7 separate regions of the Homo sapiens genome follow, and all the other regions are linked to region 7. Evidence: promoter capture Hi-C in 16 types of primary human blood cells and fetal thymus (Javierre and others, 2016). All regions are on one chromosome and are shown on one strand. The core of a region is centred on a gene start or on the middle of the fragment in contact, and the rest is flanking DNA. Distances in the headings are between cores, read along the strand shown. Region 1 overlaps LINC01695 (long intergenic non-protein coding RNA 1695). Region 2 has its middle 150 kb from the start of HEMK2. Region 3 has its middle 110 kb from the start of LINC01695. Region 4 has its middle 97 kb from the start of LINC01695. Region 5 holds the start of HEMK2 (HemK methyltransferase 2, ETF1 glutamine and histone H4 lysine). Region 6 has its middle 110 kb from the start of LINC00161. Region 7 holds the start of ADAMTS5 (ADAM metallopeptidase with thrombospondin type 1 motif 5).

What was found. The method cuts DNA at HindIII sites, captures the fragments that hold promoters and counts their contacts. A CHiCAGO score of 5 or more calls a contact.
Region 1: a contact is called between a fragment that was not itself captured here and the fragment with the promoter of ADAMTS5 in region 7, in 1 of 17 cell types (M1 macrophages). The highest score is 5.9, in M1 macrophages.
Region 2: a fragment that was not itself captured here is called in contact with the fragment with the promoter of ADAMTS5 in region 7 in 1 of 17 cell types (fetal thymus); the score reaches 5.9 in fetal thymus.
Region 3: a contact is called between a fragment that was not itself captured here and the fragment with the promoter of ADAMTS5 in region 7, in 2 of 17 cell types (M1 macrophages and M0 macrophages). The highest score is 8.6, in M1 macrophages.
Region 4: a contact is called between a fragment that was not itself captured here and the fragment with the promoter of ADAMTS5 in region 7, in 3 of 17 cell types (M2 macrophages, M0 macrophages and M1 macrophages). The highest score is 7.9, in M2 macrophages.
Region 5: a contact is called between a fragment that was not itself captured here and the fragment with the promoter of ADAMTS5 in region 7, in 1 of 17 cell types (M2 macrophages). The highest score is 5.6, in M2 macrophages.
Region 6: a fragment that was not itself captured here is called in contact with the fragment with the promoter of ADAMTS5 in region 7 in 1 of 17 cell types (erythroblasts); the score reaches 5.2 in erythroblasts.

Annotation. Positions count from the first base shown.
Region 1 is chr21:28,217,871-28,221,605 of GRCh38, forward strand. All of the region lies in intron 2 of LINC01695 (long intergenic non-protein coding RNA 1695), which reads right to left. Among named protein-coding and RNA genes, the nearest start is that of LINC01695, 8.9 kb to the right of the region's middle. The HindIII fragment of the contact is 6,620 bases long and covers 1-3,735 here.
Region 2 is chr21:28,736,976-28,740,606 of GRCh38, forward strand. It overlaps a transcript of HEMK2 not described here. Among named protein-coding and RNA genes, the nearest start is that of HEMK2, 150 kb to the right of the region's middle. The HindIII fragment of the contact is 2,967 bases long and covers 686-3,631 here.
Region 3 is chr21:28,341,380-28,344,873 of GRCh38, forward strand. No RefSeq gene overlaps it. Among named protein-coding and RNA genes, the nearest start is that of LINC01695, 110 kb to the left of the region's middle. The HindIII fragment of the contact is 158 bases long and covers 1,417-1,574 here.
Region 4 is chr21:28,323,427-28,327,059 of GRCh38, forward strand. No RefSeq gene overlaps it. Among named protein-coding and RNA genes, the nearest start is that of LINC01695, 97 kb to the left of the region's middle. RefSeq lists an enhancer at 2,106-2,720. The HindIII fragment of the contact is 3,152 bases long and covers 569-3,633 here.
Region 5 is chr21:28,885,041-28,888,635 of GRCh38, forward strand. It overlaps HEMK2 (HemK methyltransferase 2, ETF1 glutamine and histone H4 lysine), which reads right to left and starts at 327. Exons shown (of 6, transcript NM_013240.6): 1 at 172-327. The coding sequence starts at 305. It also overlaps the pseudogene HSPD1P7. RefSeq lists enhancers at 1-185, 181-240, 186-744. The HindIII fragment of the contact is 2,444 bases long and covers 703-3,146 here.
Region 6 is chr21:28,423,154-28,426,453 of GRCh38, forward strand. No RefSeq gene overlaps it. Among named protein-coding and RNA genes, the nearest start is that of LINC00161, 110 kb to the right of the region's middle. The HindIII fragment of the contact is 3,983 bases long and covers 41-3,300 here.
Region 7 is chr21:26,965,769-26,969,216 of GRCh38, forward strand. It overlaps ADAMTS5 (ADAM metallopeptidase with thrombospondin type 1 motif 5), which reads right to left and starts at 1,320. Exons shown (of 8, transcript NM_007038.5): 1 at 1-1,320. The coding sequence starts at 623. It overlaps LOC124905050, which reads right to left. Exons shown (of 3, transcript XM_047441063.1): 2 at 1,676-2,202; 3 at 888-1,316. The coding sequence ends at 888. The HindIII fragment of the contact is 6,499 bases long and covers 1-3,448 here.

The DNA.
Region 1 (3,735 bases), core at 136-2,635, 1.3 Mb after region 7:
AGGAGAAAGATGTGGGATGGGAGGCTAGGCCAGTCTCTCCTTTTCACATTGTTCTGCCTGCTTTATATTTGCTGTCAGCTGATTAAATTGCCCACCAGATTAAGGGTGGATCTGCCTTCCCCAGCCCACTGACTCAAATGTTATTCTCTTTTGGCAACACCCTCACAGACACACCCAACATCAATAATTTGTATCCTTCAATCCAATCAAGTTTACATTCAGTATTAACCATCGCAACTTCACCTCTTCTCAACTTGAACCCATACACATCTCCTGAGATCATAATCTCCAAATAAAGATAATAATAAGGTCGTAATTCTGCCTGATATAATACAACTATCCTTCATACAACTGGAAATGCACCAATCCCCAACCCAAATACTAATACAAAAAGTTAACAATATTTAAATGCTGATATGAAGTCAATAAACCTTATGTCACATGATAAAATAAAATAAAATAAAAATATTTTCTTAGTACAAGTGTATACATAGACAAACATGTTTTTAACAAAAGAAGAATGAAATTCTCATGAAAATTATAGTCCTTGTTTCCACAGCTGGTAACATGGTTGGAGCTCGTATTGATGACTACCTTCTTCTACTATCCATTCTGTATTCCCTTTGCCGTCAGAAAGCACTTCAGCAGGTCATGGTTTTTTTCCTGGAGGAGTGACCCAAACCTTCACTCCTGAGGGGTCTGGGCCATTTGTAGTCCTGCCTGGAATGGACTGTTGTAGTTTCCCACTGACTTTAATCACAGGGCATGGTAATACTAAGAGACACCCTAATGGATCTCTTGCATTCTATGCAAACTCTTCCTGACTTCCATTATGCAGTAGTAGACTGATTTATCTTAATAGTCCGGGTCAATCAACCCAGCCAACGCTGTAACTCCCTTCTTAGCCTGTTGACTCAAAGGTAGCAAGAGCCCAAAGTGTCCAGGTGGCAATCTTAACTTCCAAATTAATGGAATTGTTGTTGTGTCTCCTGGTGGCAGCGTTCCTCCCTCCGGAACTAAGACCTCTAGGCCAGCAGAACGTAATGTCACAGGAACAGGAAGCAAAAATTTTGCTAGTGAATCACTAGGGGTGATGGTGAGTGGTGCCGCTTCCACGTCCCCCCCCGATTGCTGGACCCATGAAACCTGGATATATAGGAGAAACACCACCATATATTGGACACTGATTCAGAGCAAACTCAGTCTTCAGGAGAACTTTGCCCAGCCCTGCAAAGTATTGTCACTAGTTGGAATTGTAATTGTGATTTCAAAAGGCCATTCCACCATTCTCTCAATGCTGCTTCAGGATGATGGGGAACAAGGTAAGACCAGTGAATTCCATGAGCATGGGCCCACTGCCATACTTCTTTAGCCATAAAGTGAGTGTCTTAGTCAGAGGCAATGCTGTGTGGAATACCATGATGGTGGATAAGGCATTCCATGAGTCCACAGATGGTAGCCTTGGCAGAAGCATTGCATACAGGATAGGCAAAGCCATATCCAGAGTAAGTGTCTATTCTAGTGAGGACAAACCTCTGCCCTTTCCATGATGGAAGAGGTCCAACATAATCAACCTGTCACCAAGTAGCTGGCTGATCACCCCAAGGAATGGTGTCATATCGAGGGCTCAGTGTTGGTCTCTGCTGCTGGCAAATTGGGCACTCAGCAGTGACCACAGCCAGGTCAGCCTTGGTGAGTGGAAGTCCATGTTGCTGAGCCCATGCATAACAACCATCCTTGCCACCATGGCCACTTTGTTTATGGGCCCATTGGGCAATGACAGGGGTGGCTGGGGAAAGAGGCTGGGTGGTGTCCACAGAACAGGTCATCCTATCCAATTGATTATTAAAATCCTCCTCTACTGAGGTCACCCGTTGGTGAGCACTCACATGGGATACAAATATCTTCATGGTTTTTGACCACTCAGAGAGGTCCATCCTCATTCCTCTTCCCCAAATTTCTTTGTCACCAATTTTCCAATCATGCTTCTTCCAAGTCCCTGACTATCCAGCCAAACCATTGGCTACAACCAATTAATCAGTATATAATCACACATCTGGTCATTTCTCCTTCCATGCAAAGTGCACACCCAGGTGCACTGCTCGAAGTTCTGCCCACCGGGAAAATTTTCCTTCACTGTTGTCCTTTAGGGATGTCCTAGAAAGGGGCTGTAGTGCTGCAGCTGTCCACTTTCAGGTGGTGCCTGCATGTCATGCAGAACCATCTGTGAACCTGGCCATAGTCTTCTCTTCCTCTGTCAAATGATCATAGGGAACTCCTTCTGAGGCCATTGTTGCAGGCTGGGGAAGAGAAGGCAGGGTGGCAGGAGTGGAGACCATGCAAGGGGAGCCAGTACAAGTTCCAAAACTGAAGAGCTTGGAGTCCAATGTTCAAGGGCAAGAAGCATCGAGTACAGGAGAAAGCCGTAGGCTGGGAGGCTAGGCCAGTCTCCCCTTTTCACGTTTTTCTGCCTGCTTTACCATTGGCAGCTGATTAGATTGTGCCCACTAGATTAAGGGTGGATCTGCCTTCCCCAGCCCACTGACTCAAATGCTAATCTCTTTTGGCAACACCTTCACAGACACACTCAGGATCAATACTTTGTATCTTTCAATACAATCAAGTTGACCCTCAGTATTAACCATCACAACCTGTTTGCAAGTTCTGTATTTTTCCATTTCTGCAAATTTAGGCTCTGCTTGACCACAGGCCCCAATTCCCAGTGTTTAAGCAGAGAAATGCTAGGTGACACAGAGAGGTCTATTGAGTTACCTGTTCATAACAACTGTACCTTCTCTCGTGAGATTATTATGAGGATTGAGTGCAATAATACCTGTAAAGGCCAAAGAAAAGGACTTAACCCAGAGCAACTATTCAGTGGGTGCTAGCTGCTATTCTTAGAATACTGAAAATGTTGACTTCATGCTTAAATGACATCAATTTGGCTCATGTGATGTTCTTAGCTCATTCAGAACGTTGTAAACAATTACCCATTTTCTTTTGGTTCTGCATATAGCTAGAATTTTTTTTTATTTCATTCTTGAAGTCGGTCTTGCTTTTTTGCCTGGGTTCCTGAAGATTTTTTTTTTAATCCTGGAATGTTGATAACTTGCCAAGATATGTCCAATACAAGTCAGGTTTTATGCATACTTTCTGGAAGATAGTGTTTCTCTTTGACCTAAAAAAAAATTAGTCCTTCCTTCATGTAAGGGAAACTTTCATCTGTTATATCTTTCAGTCCTAATTTTCTATTTTTTCTTGGGTATTATATCTCAGGGACAGCGATTACCATTAACTAGGATTTTCTTTTTCAAAAATATATACTTACTACCTTTATTTCCTTTAAACTCTGTTTTTTCTTTACCTTTGAGCATTGTAAGTTTTTTATATTTCCCCTATTTTTGTAACTTAATATTTTCTCTTGACTTCATTCCCCCCCCACACACACACACAATGCAAATTTAAATGGCTTTTTCTTATAGTTAATATGTGCAACTTTGATAGCATCACAGCTTTAAATTTTTACTTTAGAGCTGCTTCTTTTTCTATCTTTTCTTTTACCAAACTACCAATTGCTATATCACCTCCTCTACTCAAAACACACTAACACACACAAACAATTGATTATTGCTGAAAACTAGACTATATTCTATTTGTTAGGACTTAGCTTAATGTCAGTTAGAACAAATATTTAAATGAGACAATAGAAAACAGTTCGTTAATTTTATAATTAAT
Region 2 (3,631 bases), core at 919-3,418, 1.8 Mb after region 7:
TTTGAGTAGCTGGGGAGATTTAAAAGAGGCTCCCCATAAACTCAGAAGTTAAAAGAGACAAGGGTCCCAGTAAATACAAAATGATTGGGGTTGAGGAGGCAGATTTTCTGTCCTCAGTGAAGTTTGTTGGTTGGTTGGTTGGTTGGTTGGTTAATTGGTTGGTTTTTGAGTCAGGGTCTCACTTTGTCACCCAAGCTGGAGTGCAGTGGTACAATCTCAGCTCACTGAAGCCTCTGCTTCCAGAGTTTAAGCGATTCTTGGGCCTCGGCCCCCCAAGTAGCTGGGACTACAAGTGTGAACCACCCCACCGAGGTAAGTTTTGTATTTTTAGTAGAGATGGGGTTTCACCATATTGGCCAGAGTGGTCTTGAACTCCTGGCCTCAAGTGATCTGCCCACCTCAGCCTCCCAAAGTTCTGGGATTACAGTCATGAGCCACCACGCCCAATCCCTCAGTGGAGTTTTATCCACTTATTATAAAATGTTTTTGAGGCTTTAGAGGCAGAGCCAGAGAAAACGAGAATTCAAAAATCTGCCTTTTTTTCTTTAGAAGTGTTGAAATCATGGCCTACTTGTGTTTTAATGGGTTTTCAGAGCTTAATTAGTCCATAGACTGTTAAAAAAAAAAAGAAGAAGAAAAGATGAGCTGCTCTATGATTCCCCAGCTGCCTTAGAAATGTGCACCAAGCTTACGATGAAAATTTGTAAGGAACATATATTTATTTTAAGGATTCTCAAGAGCTCTGGAGAACTGTGCCTTTCTCTACATACATCACTTCACTGCTCTCATATCTCAGTTAAGTGAGCTAAATTCACCAAGCCCTGCTTAACTTCACAAGCCAGGTCTGCCAGAACTCTGGGAGGTGTCCATTGCTGATTGGCAGCTAGCCAGTAATATACACAAAGAATGCAAGGATGAGAGGATGACCTACGAAGTAAAGAATCATGTTCAGGGAGAAACACAGGAAGGGGCAGGTTGGGAGCAAACACTGAAAAGCCAATTGCACTGTGTTTTCATTTGTTTGGAGAGGGCATTATGGGAGGGCTGGAGGATTGTTTCTTAGCTTCTTCCAACAACAGTTAGATAATTGCTGCAAGTGGAGAGCTCAGAATAGCAACAATTTGCCGACACATGAGGGCCCCTCTTTACATGTTCATCTTTTTGGTCACCTTCCACTTATGTATGTGTTATTGAAGTAGCAATGGACACTTTGAACTTTCTTTCTCAGAAAGCTATTAGCTTAGCTGGTGTTCTGTATTATTTCCACATTTAAGCAATAAAGCAGTGTTTCTTTGTAAAAATCTGACTTTTTTCAGTTAAGTTTGTTGCCAGATCTCCCAAAAAGACAGCTGAAGTCTATTACATATGTTGATCGCTATTATTGGGAGAAGGTGTTGGCAACCTTTTGAGTGGGCTGTGATGTTGCCAATGTGTTTTTCCAACAAGGTAAGGATGAGACAAGATAAAGGGCAAGGAAGGGGGAAAGGGTGCTGATGTGGACACAGAGAACGTCTCCCTCTTGCTGTCCTCCCTCTGCTTTCCATCAAGGTCAAGTGTCTCTTGTAAACACCGGCAGGGACAGTTCAATCTGCCCATCTCTGACACTTGGGTCTCCCTTTCTGTGACCCGGGAAACAGTCCCACGGAGAAGCCAGGACCCTGGGCCTTCTCCCTGGGGGCTCTTTATGCAGGTCACTGCCCCACTCCCTGAACTCCGAAACAACAGAGCTTACGTCCTAGGAAAACCTCCCAGAGATGGCTCTAGTCCCCAACATTTTTGCAATTGCAACATTTCTTATCCTATAATAATACAAAAACTTCCACATTTAAATGCATTCATTCAACAGAGGCCAACTTCAGCACATGCACTTCTGGGGCACTTGTGTTTACAATGGGGACAAAACAAGACAGTTGGTGTCCGTGGGCAGCTTAATCCTAGTCATTTTAATGCATTTTGCTTTCAATTAGCTTTCTCTGAATAATTCTATGACCACATTGAAATTGTGAGTGACATCCTGAAATATACCTACACTGGATCGTAAACCACAGTGAAAAAAATATATAAATATCGCCCTTTCCAGAAGCTCATGTGTACTTAAAATGAAACCAAAAAAACCTAAATTAGGTATTCACAGATACCCTTTTGAGAAATTCGCGAGAGCAGCAAAAGTACATTGACATGCGTATTTCTGACCCCATTTGATGACCTGAAACATTTCCTCCCTCTTCATTTTCTATTGCTGAACCACAGTATTTTCCTGTTTGGCACAGATCAAGAACACAGGTCTTTCTCTTTTTTCGTTTTTCCCACTGAGGCTATGAAATTGGCCATTCAGTTATTATAGTAAGGATTAGTAAGGACATTTCAAACACAACTAATTAAAGAAGTGTTTTCTGAAATTAAGATATTTTTGTTTAATTACATTAGAAGGAACTAAATATAATATGGTATAGATAAAAATAGACAGAATTACTCAGAACTGAGGGAAAAAATAAGTAGTGAGAAAATGTTAATAAGATCTGAATGCCATCTTCGTGGCATTTTTCCCTAAACTTCATCAGTTGGGAGAAAACTAAATCTTCAATATTAAAAACAAGTCTTATGAGCAAAAATTACTGTCCGGTCACCCTCCAGAGCAGGGTGCTGTCTAAACAGAACTTTCTGTGATGATGGAAATGTTCTCTATCTGTACTGTCCCTATAGCCATTAGCCCTAGGTGCCTATTCAAATTTAAATTAACTAAAATTCAATAAAATTAACAATTCTGTTTTTCAGCGACAGTAGCCACATTTTAAGTGCTCAAAAGCAACACATGGCCAGTGTCTACCATATTGGACAGCACAGTTCTAGAAGCCAGGAAAGAAGGTTAAATACACAGTGAAAATACACACCCAAGGTTTTCCAAACATAAGTAGAAATGGGAAATTTTTCCCGAAAGACCTCTATGGAGCATGAGAAGAAAGGTCTACTTTGTATCATCTGGAGGATTTTTTCCTCTTTCCATCAAGTTTCAGCCAATAATTAAAACAAGTTAGCAATATTTTTCATCCCAACACCTTGTGTAAATTCTTGTCTTCCCCCAAAGAGTTCCCTTGATATGCGTTTTACACACCGTCTATAGAAAAAGCACTTTCCAAACACCCAGTGTATGTTTTTCATGTAAATTCACTTTTCTGATCCTTTTAGTATATTTATAATGGAAATTCTCTCTACTTAAAGCCTATCTATATCTTAGCAACCACAGTTTCCAAAGCTATTCCATGAAGCAGGTTTCTCTATTTACTTTTGTCTATTTGTGTAGCCCAGACCACGCAATAAGATTTTCAAACTGGCCAAAACACATGAACATAGACAAAGTCCTTTATTGTGTGGGTAACCCTTTGGAATGTCTTATTCCCTATGAGAGCTGACATAAAGCAGGAATTCAAATGACAGTGGGTCAAAACCTGAGGGCCAACTGCAGATTTCAGCCTACTTTACAGTCCGTTGGCTATCATAGCTTCCATATGGGCAATAGTGATTGTTTATGAATTAATCCATGCAAAATATATCAAATCTAGTTGGAGAGGATTTTTGTGGGAGAGAAAAGGTACCCTTCCTTCACCAGCCTCGGCTTCATGCTAAAGTATTT
Region 3 (3,494 bases), core at 246-2,745, 1.4 Mb after region 7:
ATGCCATTCTCCTGCCTCAGCCTCCTGAGTAGCTGGGACTGCAGGCGCCTGCCACCACTCTCAGCTAATTTTTTGTATTTTTTTGTAGAGATGGGGTTTTACCATGTTAGCCAGGATGGTTTTGACCTCCTGACCTCGTGATCCACCCGCCTTGGCCTCCCAAAGTGCTGGGATTACAGTCATGAGTCACCGCGCACGGCCAGCGTTTTTGAAATTAATTCAAATTTCTGAAAATCTGACCAAATGAATATTTTTCTTTCTTATATATTATACGTGTTATATACTATATATATTTAAAATGCCAGTTTGAATAATTGGCTTCTTTGCATTAGATAGACATTTAAAATAAAAAAAAGAAATTGATTAAGATAAGTAAATAAACCAGTCTTTCCGATAACGCTACAAATTTATTCTAAGTTTTACTCAGAATAACAAATACTATTTTAAATTTGCCATACCCTTAAGCATATATAATCAATAAGTTTCTTTAAATAATTGTTATTTGTAAGAATATATCTTGCAAAACAGATTTTCAAAGTTGAAATTTCTAAGGCATGCAACTAGAAAATGTTTGAGGAAAACATAAGAAAATTATGCCTTGTTTCTCAAACATTTTCTAGTTGTTGGTTTTAGTGGGAAGTTTCATATCACATATAAAGAACTTCCTTAAAAAATAAAAAATATGCCATAACTTTGGAATCATATAATATACCCCACTTACTAACTTGAGACACATGTTTTAAAATTATATTTAGAGAAAAGAGACTTTCAATGACAATTTGATTGTGAACACAGAATTATAATCGAAACTTGGTAGCACTATGTGGCTTTTTTTCCAGACACAATAGGTAGGGTTTTGATTTGATCACATCTCCAGGAATTCAGTGTGGCTCACACTGAAATTGTTGTGGTTCACACAAGATTGTTGAGCACAATCTTGGATTACACTCATTGAAACCTAGAAGGGGAAATGACCAACAAGAGATTTAACAGAAAGCATACTTTGCCATATGGCTTCTAACTGTTTGCTCTTTGAAGCTCAGTGAGAGAGATCTGAGATACCACAGCAATGTTTTTCCTTTGTCATGAAAGATTTGTCTAGGAAGACAGCAGAAGCCATGAATTTGACATGCTAGTCAAAATACAAGAAGTTTAAGGCAACAGATGAAAAAGCAGAGGGCCTGCAGCTGTTTCAAATGAGTTCCCATGGTGCTGAGCTTCTTTCGAAGAGGGCCCTATCTCAGAATAAAGCCACAAGAGTTCTTCCTACCACTAAACAGCCCTGTAGGTTAAAACCCATGACAGCCATTCTATTGACTTAAATTTTGATAGATCCTTATTTATGCATCGAAGTTTAGTCAGTAATCTTTTGCATAAATGGGATATAATTAGTGATGTATGAAAATTCACTAAATAAGCTTTCCTTCTTTGGCTTATGATCCTCAGAATTAATCAATAATCTTTTGCATTTTTTGTTCTAACTCTGGGAATTTTCATGCTATTCTGAACCTTGGATGTTTAAAATGCATAATAAAATACATGAAGTCCAACCTCTCCTCAATTAAAATCTAATAAGCTTTGAAAACTCTATTTTGAGGTATCACTAGAGATCATATTTTACAAAAGATTGTATTATTCTGTTCTCACCCTGCTATGAAGAAATACCCAAGGCTGGTAATTTATAAAGAAAAGAGGTTTAATTGACTCACATTTCTGCATGGCTGGCAGCGGGGTGGGGGTCCTCAGGAAACTTACAATCATGGCGGAAGGCACCTCTTTACAGGGTTGCAGGAGATAGAATGAGTGCCAGGAGGGGAAATGCTGGATGCTCCTATGATGTGGTTTGACTGTGTCCCCACCAAAATCTCATGTTGAATTTTAGCTCCCATAACCTCCATGTGTCATGGGAGGTACCCAGTGGGAGGTAATTGAATTGTGGGGCCTGGCCTTTCCTGTCCTGTTCTCGAAATAGTGAATAAGTCTCACAAGATCTGATGGTTTTATAAAGAGGAGATTCCCTGCACGTGCTTTCTTGCCTGCCACCATGTAAGACGTACCATTGCTTCTCCTTTGCCTTCCGCTATGATTGTGAGGCCTCCCCAGCCATGCTGAACTGTGAGTCTGTTAAGCCTCTTTCCTTCATAAATTACCCAGTCTCAGGTATGTCTTTATTAGCAGTGTGAGAACAGACTAATACACTTATAAAGCCATCAGATCTCGTGAGAACTCACTATCACAAGAACAACTGGGAGAAACCTCCCCTATGATTCAATTACCTCCACTGGGTTCTTCTCACATGGGGGTGTTATGAGGATTACAATTCAAGTTGAGATTTCGGTGGGGACATAGCCAAACGATATCACCCATAGATCACCTTTTTTTTATTCATGAGTTAATTATTTTGAGAAAAGAATCTTAGTATATTCCTAAAATTTAGAGAAAGACTTTATGTCTAAAAGAATGTCCATTAGAAAATTGTCACTGGGGCCAGGTGTGGTGGGTTATGTCTGTAATCCCAGCACTTTGGGAGCCCAAGGTGGGCGGATCACTTGAGGTCAGGAGTTGGAGACCAGCCCAACCAACATGGTGAAACCCCGTCTCCACTAAAAACACAAGTGTGTTGGCAGTGTGGTGTGTTATAGGTGTGGTGGCAGACACCTGTAATCCCAGCTACTCTGGAGGCTAAGGCAGGAGAATCGCTTGAACCTGGGGCCATAGGTTGCAGTGAGCCGAGATCACGCTACTGTACTCCAGCCTGGGTGACGGAGTGAAACTCCATCTCAAAAAAAAAAAAAAGAAAAGAAAAGAAACTTGACACTGGTTGGTTTGTTTTGTTTTGTTTGGAGCATTGAAACAATTGTCTTCCAACTATTAATCCATCATAGCAAGGTTAAAATGTTAATGCAACTATTATATTTAAAAATTAGCATCCTGATGAAATTATAAACTTGACCACATTGCAATAGCACCAACAATGGATTACTCATCACACATAATGACCCATTTCAAATTTAAATGATATTATTTAGTGCAATTGAATTAGAATGATCAAATTTCTATCTAGAGGACATATGTGATGACTTTATAGTAAATTGCCATAAAGACAGTAGGCAGTGACATGAGAAGAGGTCAAACAATTTAAAGTCCAAAAGATATAGGAACTAAAGATGACTTTGCACCCAAACTTCTTTCTATTTTCTTTTTACCTGCTCTTCATGCAATATATAGGAACAACTTAGGGTTGTAATGCAGTGCCTGGGAGTTCCTTTATATCACATTTAGTTGCTATGAGAGTTCCTGGATGAGAAAATCAGGGACAATCCAAACGGAGTGGACATGGAGCAGAGGCAGAGAACAGCACATCACAGTGAGAAGGGAATAAAGAAGAATAAAGTCAATGCAAATTTGGCACTTTCCAACCATTTGTTTCTCCTTGTGACTTTTAAAAATCTTTTGCTAGGCTATCTTTAAGCTATAATTCGTAGTCTCAACAG
Region 4 (3,633 bases), core at 895-3,394, 1.4 Mb after region 7:
TTGACATGTACACATTTAGGATTGGTGTCTTTTTGGTGTATAAACTTTTTATCATTATGTAATGTATTTCTCTGTCTCTGGTAATTTTCTTTGTTCTGAAGTCTCCTTAATTTTACAATAATCTAGCCACTCCTGCTTTTTTAAATTAATATTTGCATGGCATATCTTTTCCATCCTTTTACTTTTAATTTATTTATATTGTATTCGAAGTGAGTTTTTATAGCATATAGCTCAGTCATATATTTTTAATCCACCCTATAAATCTTTGTCTTTTCATGTGTGTATTTATTTACTTTTAATGTCACTGTTAACATGCTGGCATTTAAATCTACCATTTAAGTTTTATTTTGCTCCCTCTCTTTTCTCTTTGTTCTGTTTCCTGTTTTCTTTTTTCCTGCCTTTTTATGAGCAATGTGACAATTATTTTAGAATTTTATTTTGATGCATATACTATAATTTTTACATATCTCTTGTTATAGCATTTTTAGTGGTTGCTCAAGGTATTATAGTACAAAACTTATTATAGTCTACTGATGTTGACATTTTACCAATTAAAGTGAAGCGTTAAAGCTTTCCTCTCATCACATCTTTTTTCCTCTTTCATTTATAAAATAATTGTCTTTAATATTGTTCTAAGCAATTAGAATCACATCAGTGTAATAATTTTTGCCTCAACTGTCAATCATGACTTAGAAAACCCAAGAAAAGAAGAAAATATGAGTAAGTCTTTTACTTATCCATATTTTTGCTGTTTCTTGTTGTTTCTTTCTGATATTCCAAAATTTCTTTTTTTATCATTTCATTTCTGTTTAGTGAATGATAAATTCTGACCCAATTTTGAAGTGAATTCTCACTGAATTATGTCCCCTCAAAATTTATATATAAAATTGGTGATTGAGGTCCTAATCACCAATGTGACCGTATTTGAAGACAGGACCTATTAGGAGGTAATTAAGGTTAAATAAAGTTACAAAGTTAGGGCACTTTTACAATAGGATTAGCGTGCTTTTAAGAAGATAGACTAGAAAGCTGTCTCTCTGTCTCTCCCGCCCTCTCTGTCTCTGTCTCTCTCTCTTTCTGCACACACACACACACACACACACACACACAAAGAGATCATGTGAACACACAACAATATGGCAGCTGCCTACAAGAAGGAAAGAGAAACCTCACCAGAAACCAACCATGCTGGTGTCTTTGTCCGAGACCCCTAGCCTCCAAAACTGTGAGAAAATATGTCTGTTGTTTAAGCCATCCAGACTATGGTATATTAATAGCCTATGCTAACTAACATGGATAATTTCCTTTAGTCATTCTTTTAGAATATATCTGCCGGTGATAAATTCTCTTAGCTTTCCTTCTTCAGAGAATGTCATCATTTAGCTTTGATTCTTAATAGAAATGTAAATGGTATTTAGAATTTTGAGCTGACAGTTTTCTTTCAGCACTTAAAAAAATGCTGACGCACTGATTTCTGATTGAAAAGTTAATATCATTCAAATTGTTTTACTCCTATAGCCAAAATGTCATTTCTCCCCAGTTGCTTCTATCATTTGTATTTGCCTTTAGTTTTTACAAGTTTGAGTATGATATATCTTCATGCAGACTTTTCTGGGTTTATATTGTATGGGTTTTTTCTCAGCTTCTTGAATCTGTAGGTTTATGTATTTTGCCAGATTTGGGAAGTTTTTGGTCATTTTTTTGTGTATTTTTTTTACCCCTCCCTTCTTTGTTCTTTCCTTCTGGAACTCTAATCCTGTTTACTTATCCATCCTTCTATCCTCATTATTCTGCTGTTGAACTAATCCACTGAGTTTTCTATTTTGGTTAGTGTATTTTTTAGCTTTAAAATTTTCATCTCGCTCTTATTTTATCTTCTATTTCTTTACTAAGACTTTTCTCTTTTAATTTATTTCCAGTTTATTTGTAATTACTTTCAGAAGCATTTTTATAATGATTTGTCACATAATTCCAGTATCTACATTGTATTGGTGTTGACATCTCTTGATTTCTTTCTTCATTCAGTTAGAAGTATTCCTGGCCATTTTGTGACATGTGATATTCTGTTAAAACCTGAACCCTTTGGAACTATGAGACTGGATCCTATGTAAACCTACTCAGTTGGTTTCCTCTACAGGGACAGAAGGCAAGTGAGGATAGAATTTCAAGTTCCCTACTTATCCTCTATTAATAGTCAAAGAGGAGAAAAGCTCCTTGTTACTGTTGGGCAAGTGAGGGATTTTCATGCCCCCACTAGACATTTGCTGATATCATATGGGCGTGCTTTTGTTATTGCTCCCCATGTGGCCTCCACTGACACCATAGGGAGGGGAAAATGGGCAATGATGAAAGTACAGACTCTCCTCTAGGCCTTTTCTACCACCACCAGAAAGAGCATTCTTCTTTATTACCAGGTGGGAGTGAAAAGCAAAGCTCCTCAGGTGGTATTCACTGACACAATAGGAGCCACAAGTGTGACTCATTATCCTTAGCAGAGAACAAAGTTACACCTTCCTACTCAGTCTTCTCTGACATCACCCTAGAGAGAGTTTGAGACACCTCTTTATAGCTTAAAAAGAATGAAAATCTATGCTCCTCATTTAGCTTTTGCCAGCTAAGGTGGAAGTGGACTACAGATTTTTTTCTGTGATATTTGGTCAGGGTGGAAGAGTTATTATATAGAAGTTTTCTTTCTTGCTAGTATGTGTCTTTCCTGAAACTTTGACTAGAGCCAGTAGGCTTTTGTTAAGGATTTTTGTTTTTGCATCCTTTGGCATTTCTGGGATTTTCCAGCTTCTGTAGCTCCACGTCGGAAATACGTGAGGCAAAGAGAAAACATAGAAAACCTACCACCATGTCATTCTTTGGTCCTCAAGTTCCTTAGCTAGTTTTCCTACTTCTTTACACTTTTCAGGTCTTCCTAGGTTTGTTTTACATATAATTTTCAAGGTTTTCAGTTGGATTTAGCAGGAATATATCTACTCCATCTTTCTGGAAGCAAAATACCATTAAGAGATACTGATTTTAGAAATGGAAATGACTCATGTGAGAGAACACAAAATGGAATAATTTTACTGAGACAAGAAGGATCAAACCACAGAGAAGATGAAGACTAAATCAGCATGAGCTAAGGTGGTTACAGAGGATAAAGTTACCTGACTGTTATAATCAAGATTCTGGAGCCCAGGGAGGGCAAAACCATGTGATTAGTAGCCCTTCCCAAATTCCATTATCAGTGGGAACAGTCAAATTCCTGGTGGCCACTTCCTTAGTACTGGCTTTTTACCCACAAGATTTAATACTAAGTTGATTGATTCAACTGTGTTTTCTTTGCCTGTTTCATGAGCTGCTCACTTTAATTCTGGATGTTCGACTAGTAAAAAAGATCCATTTCTGTAATTTTGAAAATATGGAAATATGTGAAGTCAAAGTCAATCTCAAACCTTCTTTGTAGAGATGGTAAGTAAAATTAAAGGATTGAAAACCCATTACTGTGCTACAAATCTACTTAAAATTTCTTAATCATTGCTGTTTCTGAGCTCCTCTGAATAATCTCTTAATGTGTGGTACCCTGGCTCATGGCAAGGACATGACTTAAATTACATGCAAAAATATCTTAAAAGTATTTATTCA
Region 5 (3,595 bases), core at 675-3,174, 1.9 Mb after region 7:
TTGTAGCTACAGGAAAATTCTCAATTACGGCGTCCTGGCTGTCAATCATCTGCAAGTGGACCCCGCCTGCTCCGGCTCAGGGCGGTGATAGTCACCGTTCCGGCCCTCCTCCACCGCACTTCTTCAGAAAGCCGCAACCCTTTCCCGTCAGAGCCCCTCCCCTCCTCGCACCCTGCCAGTTCGGCAGCCGCTGCCTCCAGCGCGTCCAAAAGCAGAAACGTGTCCTCCGCGGGCTCGTACACGTCGCTGAAGGCGCCGCGGCCCACGTGCCCGTGGAACGGCGTAGCGAAGTTCTCCCCTGCCATAGTCCTTCGCTGCGTTCCATGCGCGTGCGCAGGGCGTGCGCATGCGCATGCGCATGCCCTCACCCTCATGCGCAGGCCTAGGAGTGGGGCTGGCGTCCCGGGCGACCAGTGTGTTGTTGTTGGGTCTTAATTCTAAATTTGTCAGTGGCTCTCCTTGAAATTGCTAAGTAGACAGTTGTATAATCCGTGACTATTGACATTTGCTTTCTTCTTTGGAACATTTAAATTTTATTCTGTGAACTAGAACCTGATAGTGGGCATTCTGAGTTGTTTTTGACTAAGGTGAATGTTCTTTCTTCATTCTAATGATATTTGGAAATTCTGTTTTATTCCTAGTTTGCAAGGATTTGAAAAAATACATAATAAATTTTACTGTTTTTTTGTCAGCTGAACTTTAAGCTTTACGCTATAAAGATGAAGACTTTCCTCGTTTTTTTACTGTACTTTATAAATTGCCTTCCTGATGAATCATGAATGCACTCTTTTTATAAACCTTAAGCAAGATGATGCGGTTTAATACACTGCTGAATTGGGGAGGCTAATAATCTGGCTCCGTTTTTTTTTACCAAGATTACGCTACCCTCGTTATGTGAGTTAGGACACTGTTTCTGGAACATTAGGTAGAAAGCCTTAAAACTGGCTGGGCTTGGTGCCTTTTTGAGTGAATGGATCTTTGATGTTTTGGAACATCTGTAAGTTATTAGACTATTCAAGTATTTGCATTCTTTTTGAGTCAATTTCTGAAATTTGTTTCGCAATGAAACATTTTTACAGCTCGTTTTTTAAATTTGAGAAATAAAAATACAGAAAAGTATTTGAGGTACAAATTTTATTTTATTTTATTTCTACTTATGTATTTTTTTTTTTTGGAGACAGAGTCTCGCTGTATCCCCCAGGCTGGAGTGCAGTGGCGCGAGCTAGGCTCACTGCAACCTCTGCCTCCCAGGTTCAAGCGGTTCTCCTGCCTCAGCCTCCGGAGTAGCTGGGATTACAGGCGCCTGCAGCCACGGCTGCCTAATTTTTGTATTTTTAGTAGAGACGGATTTTCCCCATGTTGGCCAGGCTGGTCTCAAACTGCTGACTTCAGGTGATCCACCCGCCTTGGGCTCTCAAAGTGCTGAGATTACAGGTGTGAGCCTTTAACGCACCCGGCTGGGTTACAAATTTCAAAACCCCAAGTTTTAAACCCAGAAATGACAGTATTTTCTCATGTTTCCTTAAAATATTTTTTAAATACAAGAACTAAAATATTACAAATAAGATGGATGTTCTTTCTCTATTTGCCTTCAGTTTAATTGTGTAACATTCTCTCCAAGGCTCTTATGGATTTAGTGTATGTCCATCTAATCCATGTAAAAACATGGATCTTGTATTTATACGTTTATAAACATTCATATCTTTATAAGCAACATACGGTGTATTTTAAAATTTACATAACTGGTACTAGGTTGGACATATTTTTCAAATTTCTTTTTCAGTCAACATTATATGAGATTTATGTTTTGATATATGGTTAGGTTACTCCTCTTAACTGCCATATAGAATTTTATTATGTAAAAATATGAAAAATATATATATATAGAAAGAGTTGTACTTGATCTCCTGGGTTCAAGCGATCCTCCTCCCTCAGCCTCCTGAGTAGCTGGAACTGGAACCATAGGTGCTCTCGCACCCAGTATTAGGAATATACAAATGTCTTTTTATCCAAAAATACAAAATAAATTATCTGTAGGCATGGACAGTGACAGCAGTAAAACATTATATATTTTGTCACTTGAAACCAGTAACTGATTGTTATAGTGATTTCCTAAACATCTGCTAGCCTTTTCTTCAGTCGTTTTCTCCAGCTGACTTCTCTGAAGTTATTGGTGAGGAATACTGCCTTGGGCTTCCTGCCACAGTTCATTAATTAAAGTAAAACGCTATTCTAATCATTAGAACTTGCCATTTCCCATAACACCTCCCGTTCCACCCATTGCACCCAATACAGGGTCCTTCTCTTTTTTTAGGAATTTCTTTGACTACAACTTCTGCTGTAGTTAACAGGCCACCCCAGCAGCATCCAGTAAAGCACTTCTCACAACCTTTGTTTTGTCAATAATTCCTTTTTTCCACCATATTCACAAAATCTGACCGTGGCATCACAACCAGCTTCTCAGGAACTGCATAATTTTCTGGACTATCAAAGATCCTTCAACACCCGCATTTTTAGCAATAGTCATTGCAGGAATTTTGAGTGTTTTCTTAATAGTTTCTGTACCAATTTTTTGATCTTCATTAGCTGGAGTCAATGAGTCCAAGGCACCAATTCATCGAAGTAGGGTACAACCCCCTCCCAGAACAATGCCTTCTTCAACAGCAGCTCTTGTAGCATTAAGGGCATCTGTAACTCTGTTTTTCTTTTCATTCACTTCAACGTGACTTGTCCCACTAACCTTCAGCACAGCTACTCCATCTGAAAGTTTTGCCAGCTGTTCATTCAGTTTTTCCTTTTCATATTCACTAGTTGTGACATCCAACTGCTCAATGATTTCTTGAATACGTTTTTAAATTTGAGCCTTGTCACCTTTTCCTTTTAAGAGCATAGCATCATCTTTGATCACAGTGACCTCTCCAACTTCTCCTAAGTCATGAGGCTGAACATCTTCAAGATTTGAGGTCAACTCCTCTTCTCCAAACACTGCACCACCAGTAGCAATTGTCATACCTTTAAGGTGGTTCTTTCTATTGTCACCAAACCCTGGAGCTTTGACTGCTACAACCTGAAGACCAAGTTTTCGCCTATTCAAAATGAGTGTACTTAGAGTTTCTCCATCAACATTTTCAGCAATTATGACCAAAAGCTTACGGTGAGCATTGGCAATTTCAAGATCAGGTACAATGGACTGGACACTAGAAATTTTCTTGGAATTCACATTTCCGACCTTTTGATGTATTAATAAAGTATGGAGAAATATATCCTCAAACTTTCATGCCTTCAATAATTTCTTTTTTTTTTTTCTTTTTTTTTAGATGGAGTCTCACTCTGTCACCCAGGCTGGAGTGCAGTGGCACAATCTCGGCTCACTGCAACCTCCACCTCCTGGGTTCAAGCAATTCTCCTGCCTCAGCCTCCTGAGTAGCTGGGACTACAGGTGCATGCCACCACACCCGGCTAATTTTTTGTATTTTTAGTAGAGACGGGGTTTCACCGTGTTAGCCAGGATGGTCTCAATCTCCTGACCTCGTGATCCGCCCACCTCCGCCTCCCAAAGTGCTGGGATTATAGGCGTGAGCCACCACACCTGGCC
Region 6 (3,300 bases), core at 782-3,281, 1.5 Mb after region 7:
TGACGCCAGCACCTCTGCCCCTGCTTCTTGACACCATGGAAGCTTGAGAATGGACAGTGGAGCGCTGAATTAAGGAGACCTCCTATCTTCATGATCTCACTGGCCAGCAGCAACAGCTAAAAGCTACAAAAGGATGACTTCTCCCTCACACCCGCCTTTCAGATTTCATGGAAATCAGTCTAATTGGTGGATCGTCATTTCTTCTAAACCGCAGCTGCAAGCATATCTGGGAAACATAATTAATAATTTTTCAAACTCTTCAACTAGAGGAAAGTTGTGAGTGTACAAATAATTTTTCAACCTCTTCAACAAGAGGAAGTTGTGAGTGTATAAACACCTATATAAACAACAGAGGCACAAAGTAATATTCATTGCTTTATTTACACATTCAAGTTGAATATAGATAGAAGATGACAAAGTCTGATGACCAGAGACCCCAGTTTCAACACTGTTAAAAGGAAATTGAGGTCACATCAATCCTAAGTACCATGCATTCAGATTATGGTTTCAAGTTCAAATAACAGCTAATGACTCAATTCATATATATCCAGAAAGACAGCCCAAAATCACCCCAGAATAATACTCCCACGTCTCCACTACTTGACCTCTCTACCATTCAACTCAACTTTGATGTCTAATTTTTGCCTTGAAACTGCATAAATTCAGTCTTCAAAAGTTTATTGTTCTGTAGGACAACCAGAAATTTACACTCAGTTAAGAAACATAAGACGCAGTTGTCTTTTAGCGTGTCCATTCTTCTGAATGTATATCACTCATAATAATAATAACCAATACCTCAAAGCAAATAAAGTATTTTATGATGTGGCTTAGTGGTTTTATTTATGCCTCCTCAGGAAGCCAAGAGACCACAACACAAATCTGAAAAACAATTAGCCTGTTTCTGATTAAACATGTATTGCTTAAAGCTGTAGCAAGTGAACAAGTGAAAAAGTTTACTGCTAATTCATACAAGCAGTATTTTTTGCTGGGCCCTTTAAATAATGAAAGCTATGCAAATAGTGGCAAAGGATAAAAGAAATTAAACACAATTTAATTTCTTCATTTTGAAATGCAATCAGTAACTGTTTTCATTCATACTCCTTTGGATTTTCTTATCTATCCTGTGCACCAAGGAAATAAAATGTATCTAGAAAGGTCAATTGATAAATGCTTATTAGCTTAAAGCATGTTTAACCTAAAATCTTAATCCTAAAATTATTTGTTTAGTGGAAATTCAAAAGGGCAAGTCATATTATCAAAAATCATGTGGCTAATCATTAGTGTTTTATCTTTAAAACTACTTTTAAACTAACAAGCATTTCTCACAGTTTGCAAGTTGATTCAGTAATGTACCTTTGGCCTTCATGACCCACTCACTTATGACCCTCCAAATCTCCTACCTTCTAAGTCTGCAGTCAGAGAACACATATACAGAAGGAGCCTTAGGTGTTATGCTCACAGTGTAACTCCTTATATATTCAATTTAAAATACAAAAGTGCCTCATAAACAAATCTAATTTATAAAGTCTTGATAAAATGCATAGATGTTGGTGAAGATACTTATTCATTTAAGACACATGATGTAAATAGTCAAGTTCTCATGGTATGCACACAGACAAAAGGTGGAAAAATTTAGCAAATACTCATTTTTTTAAACAGGGTCTTGATCTGTTATCCAGGCTGGAGTGCAGTGGTGCAATCATAGCTCACTGCAGCCTTGACCTTCTGGGCTCACGTGGTCCTCCCACCTGAACCTCCCAAGTAGCTGGGACTACAGACTTGTATCACCATACACAGCTAATTTTTTTTTTATTTTTTGTAGACATGAGGTCTCACTACGTTGCTCAGGCTGGTCTCAAACTTATGGGCTCACGTGAACCACCTCAGCCTCCCAAAGTGCTAGGATTACAGGCATGTGCCACTGTGCCCTGTCCCAAATATTTGGATCTTTAGTTCCCAAAATACCGAGTGTCTGCATATACAAACATATCTGTATATTGGTGTTTTTAGTTTTCATTTGGAAGTTTTCCATAAAAACCACGATCTTAGTTTTCTTAGCTATGTGCCCTGAGTTGTGAATAATAATTTTGATAATGTTACTATCCCTTTAGGAAAATATTTAGCACAGAAACTCTGATAAATGTGTCTTGTCTGTTGCAATTGAGTATGTTTGCAAAAAGAAGAGGATTTGGAAAAGATATTTCAGTAATTCAACATAGCCAAAAACTTAACATTGTATAAGTATTAACACACTACTAAGACAACTAATCTTATTTTATGTACCACAATATACTTAATGAGTAAATTTAACTAAACCTATCACAGTAAAGGGTAAATGACTACTCCATGCCTTTTACATTTGAAGCGGGCACCAGTAATGCTCACTTCAGTGCAGGGTCTCTGCGGTGTCTGCACTCATTCCTCAAGGAGTAGCAGGCCACAAACTGGTTATTGAGTTTGGAAGGGGAAACTGAACAAATGTTTCCCACCCTCTTCCTAGTTCCTTCATCTAAAAAGCGTAAGGCTTGCAAGTAGCATGAATTTTCATATGCGCCATTTTGCTCCATGTTGTAAAGGATCTTGTCTCTATTGAGGAAACTTGTGGTTTTCCAGGACTGCTGTAATTGGCAATCATACTCTCCAAAAGCAGATTTACTAGGTTAAAAAAAATGTGGTAATTTGCTCCACTTCTTTTTTATCTTTTGTCTTCTCACTTGGTTCAGAACTTAGGCAGTTTAATAGAGTTCTCTTTATTGGACCCACTTGAGCCTCATATAAGATTTAATTTTTAAATTGTCTGAAAAAGAGTCTGAGGTTCCCAAGAAGCCTCTAGTTCATTAAACCACTTGACTTTCCAAATCTATGTGCATTAGCCAGAATCTATGTGCAAAGATCTACCTATATAAAAGCCCTTCTATAATTACAATTTCTACATGGGCTTTTTTTTTTAACAAAGAAATAGAAATGGGAAACTCAACCAATTTATATTTTTTCTTATACAGCTCATCATAGAAATAGATAGATATATATAAATAACTATATACATAGTTATATAAATAACTTTTCTTTAAAACATTTTTAAAAGCAGAACACATATTTAATATATATTAAAAGGTCACATGCCTAATATAGTTTTCTGTTGCTCTCTAATGAAAGATGCATGAGAGACTTATTTACAAGGTTTCTTAATTTCAGCATTGGTTGCTTACTCTGCCCCAAATTCACAAGTAATTGATGAAGGCCTATTTTGTTAATTATGTGAAGATCTGTTTTAATTGTGCCTTCTATTGGCATTTTCAT
Region 7 (3,448 bases), core at 70-2,569:
CTGGCGCGCGGCGGCAGGGCCTCGAAGCTGAAGCCCTCGCGGGTGTAGACGTGCAGGATCCGTGCGGACCCATCCCCGTACACGCGCCCCTTTTCTTCCTCCGCCCAGGGTCCGCGCAGCAGTGGCTTTAGGGTGTAGCGCGCGTGCTTGACCGCGAAGAAGCCGTCGAGACCCCCACAGAGGTCAAAGACAGCCAGAGAGCGGGGACTACCGTCCACTGTGCCCCGATAGAAGCAGTGGCTCCGGTGGCGCCAGGGCGCACTCGTCCCGCCTCCTGCGGGCACGAAGCCAGCAATGCCCACCGAACCATCTCGCTCCAGGTCCAAGAGGAACCTCCGGCCGCCCGCGTAGACGAGGTAGCCCACCTTGCCGCCGCCGGAGTAGAGTTGGTCGATGTTCTGCACCAGCCCCTTGCTCCTGCGCCGCTGCGCCAGGGGGTGCGGGTGGCCGGGAGGCTCGGCTCGCTCCTGCACCTCCTCCCCCTGCCGCCGGCGGGGCTGGGCGGCTGCTGCAGCAGTCGGAGGCTGCCCGGCTTTATCCTGGGCAGGTGTCGCGGCGGGGCCGACCGCGGCCAGGGGCAGGCGGAACGCGCACAGCAGCAGGGACGCCCACCCGAGCAGCATAGTGCGCTGCCCGCGGGGAGGGGCTGCGCGACTGGGACTTTATGGGTATTTGTTATTTGCTATGAAGTTAACGGGGCGGGGGATGGGGACACACACACACTTGCTTGCAGGATTGAGTCAAGTGTCGGAGGGAGGGGGGCCCGGCAGCAGCGCCAGCCTGTCCGGGCTGCGGTGCCAGCGTGCGAACTTTTCTTTGTTGCTTGGGAAAATGTTTGGATTCGTGCTCCAGAAAGAGGTGGGGTGGGGGGGGGGGGAAAGAAAAGATTAAAAAAAAAAAGTCGGATAGTGGAGATTCAGCAAATACGGGAAAAGGAAAAAAACAAAAACCAAAAAACCACCAAATGCAGGCACGATCGCTGTTTCAAGAAAAGTAAGGAAAGGTACCGCGCACCGGGCTGGCAACTGGTGCGCGCAGCCTCCCGCCCCCGCGCTGCGCTGGACAAGCCGGCTGTGGAGGTTCCAAGCTCCGGGGCCCACTTCCTTTCTTATTTTGTGGGTTTCCTTGGCTCTGCTGGGACCAGGAGGAAGGGAAGAAAGAGAGGGGAAAAAGCCGTAAAAATTAAAACAAAAATGCAGGGGGGCAGCCTGAGGCGAGCTGGTGAAGCGGCGTGTCTGTGTCCCTTCGGCTGCGGTCTCCTCCTGCCCGCCGTCATCCCCAGTCGGCAGCTGCGAGCGCCGAGAGCAGCGCGAGCGCTGTGAAGATGCGAGGAGGTGGAACAATGAATTTATAGCGGCATGCCATCCTGCAATGGCAATTTCAACAGTTCGTCACTGCACGCTGCCTCTTAAAGGGAGAGCTTCCCCCACCACTCCCACCCTTCCCAGTCCGCGCCTAATCAGATGGGGGAGGGCAAAAGAGGAGGGTGATCGAGGAAAGGGAGACGAAGTAGGAGGAAGGGACTGGGACCCGGCGAGGTGGTAGGAGGGGAGAGGGGAAAATAAAAAGTAATGGGGCAAGAAAAACAGATTTCCTTGGCCACTTTTAAAGCCACAGCGGCTCCGGGTCTGTCTGATATTTCACAACCAATTGGGGTTGGCTAACCTTGGCTTACCTCATCTCCTGAACGGGTGTTTTGGTTAAAGTTATTGAGACGTTTCAAGTCTCTCCCTGCCTCCTTCTTGCCTGCTTTTCTCGCCCTCGGTGGGAAGTTCCTGCCGCAAGTTTTTCCCCTTTGCACACCCGTGCGCTCTGGCCTCGCAGACCGTGCAACTCCATCCACCAGCCAGAGCTTTTCAGCTTCCCGTGCGTCCCCTAACCACCGCGTTCCCTTCGCTTCCTCCCCTCCGTCCCGGCACCCGGTTTCCTCCCTCCCCATTCTCCAGCCTCTTGATGCTTTGACGCTCGCCGGATTCGGGCTCCGGGTGACTAACTTCTCCCGGCCACCAGCAGAGCGGCTGGACAGCCAGAGAGCCCAGGGCGCTTCCTGGCGCGCTGCGGTACCCCGGGGCGAGAACGCCCGCCGCTTGGGAACTCCGCAGCTTTGTGTGCGAACGGCGGGCTCCCAGCTTTCTCCAGCACGCCTTTCGTCAGGGTCCACAATCTGTCCCTTACTCCCAGCCCACTGGAACTTCCTTTGCTCTAAAAAGGCAGAGCGAGAAAGAGTTAACTCTTAGAGGGAATTCCGCTCATTTTTTTTCCCTGAAAGATTTTAAAATTTTGCGCTCATACTTTTATTTTTTGCTTAAATGATACTTTAATAATAAATTCCTATATCTGTTTTTGTCTCTTCTAAAGCAACCACTTATCGCCATAGGCCTTGACCTACCTTCATTCTCAGAAATTCCTTTTAGAAGAAAAAGAATACTTTTGGCGGAAGGAAGATTGGTGCTTATTAGTACGCGGGTGACATTATCACTGCTACTCGTTTCCTCTGACCTCTTTGTTTCCTCTAATTATCATTCTAAGAAGGGAGAAGGAAAACCCGACGACTTATGGTTAGAAGGTCTACCTTCTACTGTAGGGGTAAGAGCTCCCTCCATGCCCAAATTATTCTTCAGGCTAATTAACTAATGCACCAGTGAAAAATGAATGTGGTGTAATTTGTACATTTCCATCTTTTTCTACGTTTAACTTTGGCTACGCTGGGGATAGCAGGGCGGGTGCCTTAATGGGGCCCCAAGCTGATCGCTTTCTCTGGGAGGGAACCATGAGGGTCCAGAGCTTGATGGAGGTTCTTAGAGTGGCAATAATCCTCTGGAAGGAATTTCAGAATTGCCCGGCAACAATACCCATTGCCGTGTGCCTGGGAACACCCTCTGGAGTCTTGTGAGGGGCAGATGTATCATCTTGTTTTAACTTATAAATAAAGAAATCACTGGGGCCTTAGGGACACCCAACAGCCCCTGATAGATTCTGAAATACATCAGGACCAGGGAGGAAGTTACTATTGCTGAAGGCCATTGCTTTATAATTCCACAATGCCTCAGCCTCTCAGTGGCCAGTTGACCCAGGCCAATGCTAACAGCTGGATGGGTCAGAATAGGAGGTTCCAGCCATTTTCTCTATCCCACCAAGGCCTTTGAGCCTTGCATTAGCCGTTCTCTTTTGTGGTCCTTGCTTTGCACCTACAAATAGCAAACTTTTATCTTTTTAACCAGTTACAGTGAAAAGGAGTCCAATATTTGGCACTAAACACCATTTCTAATACAACCTTGATTCAATAAATTTAACAATTTTGTCATTGTTCATGCCAAAGAATCATTTTAATAGGCATTTTAGGTGACAGTGGTTAAAATTTGTTAATTACAATTATTTTCATTCACAGATAGATTTTGTTATTTAGGATTTCAGGAAATTCCAACAGATTCTCTTTTCTTTGATGGTC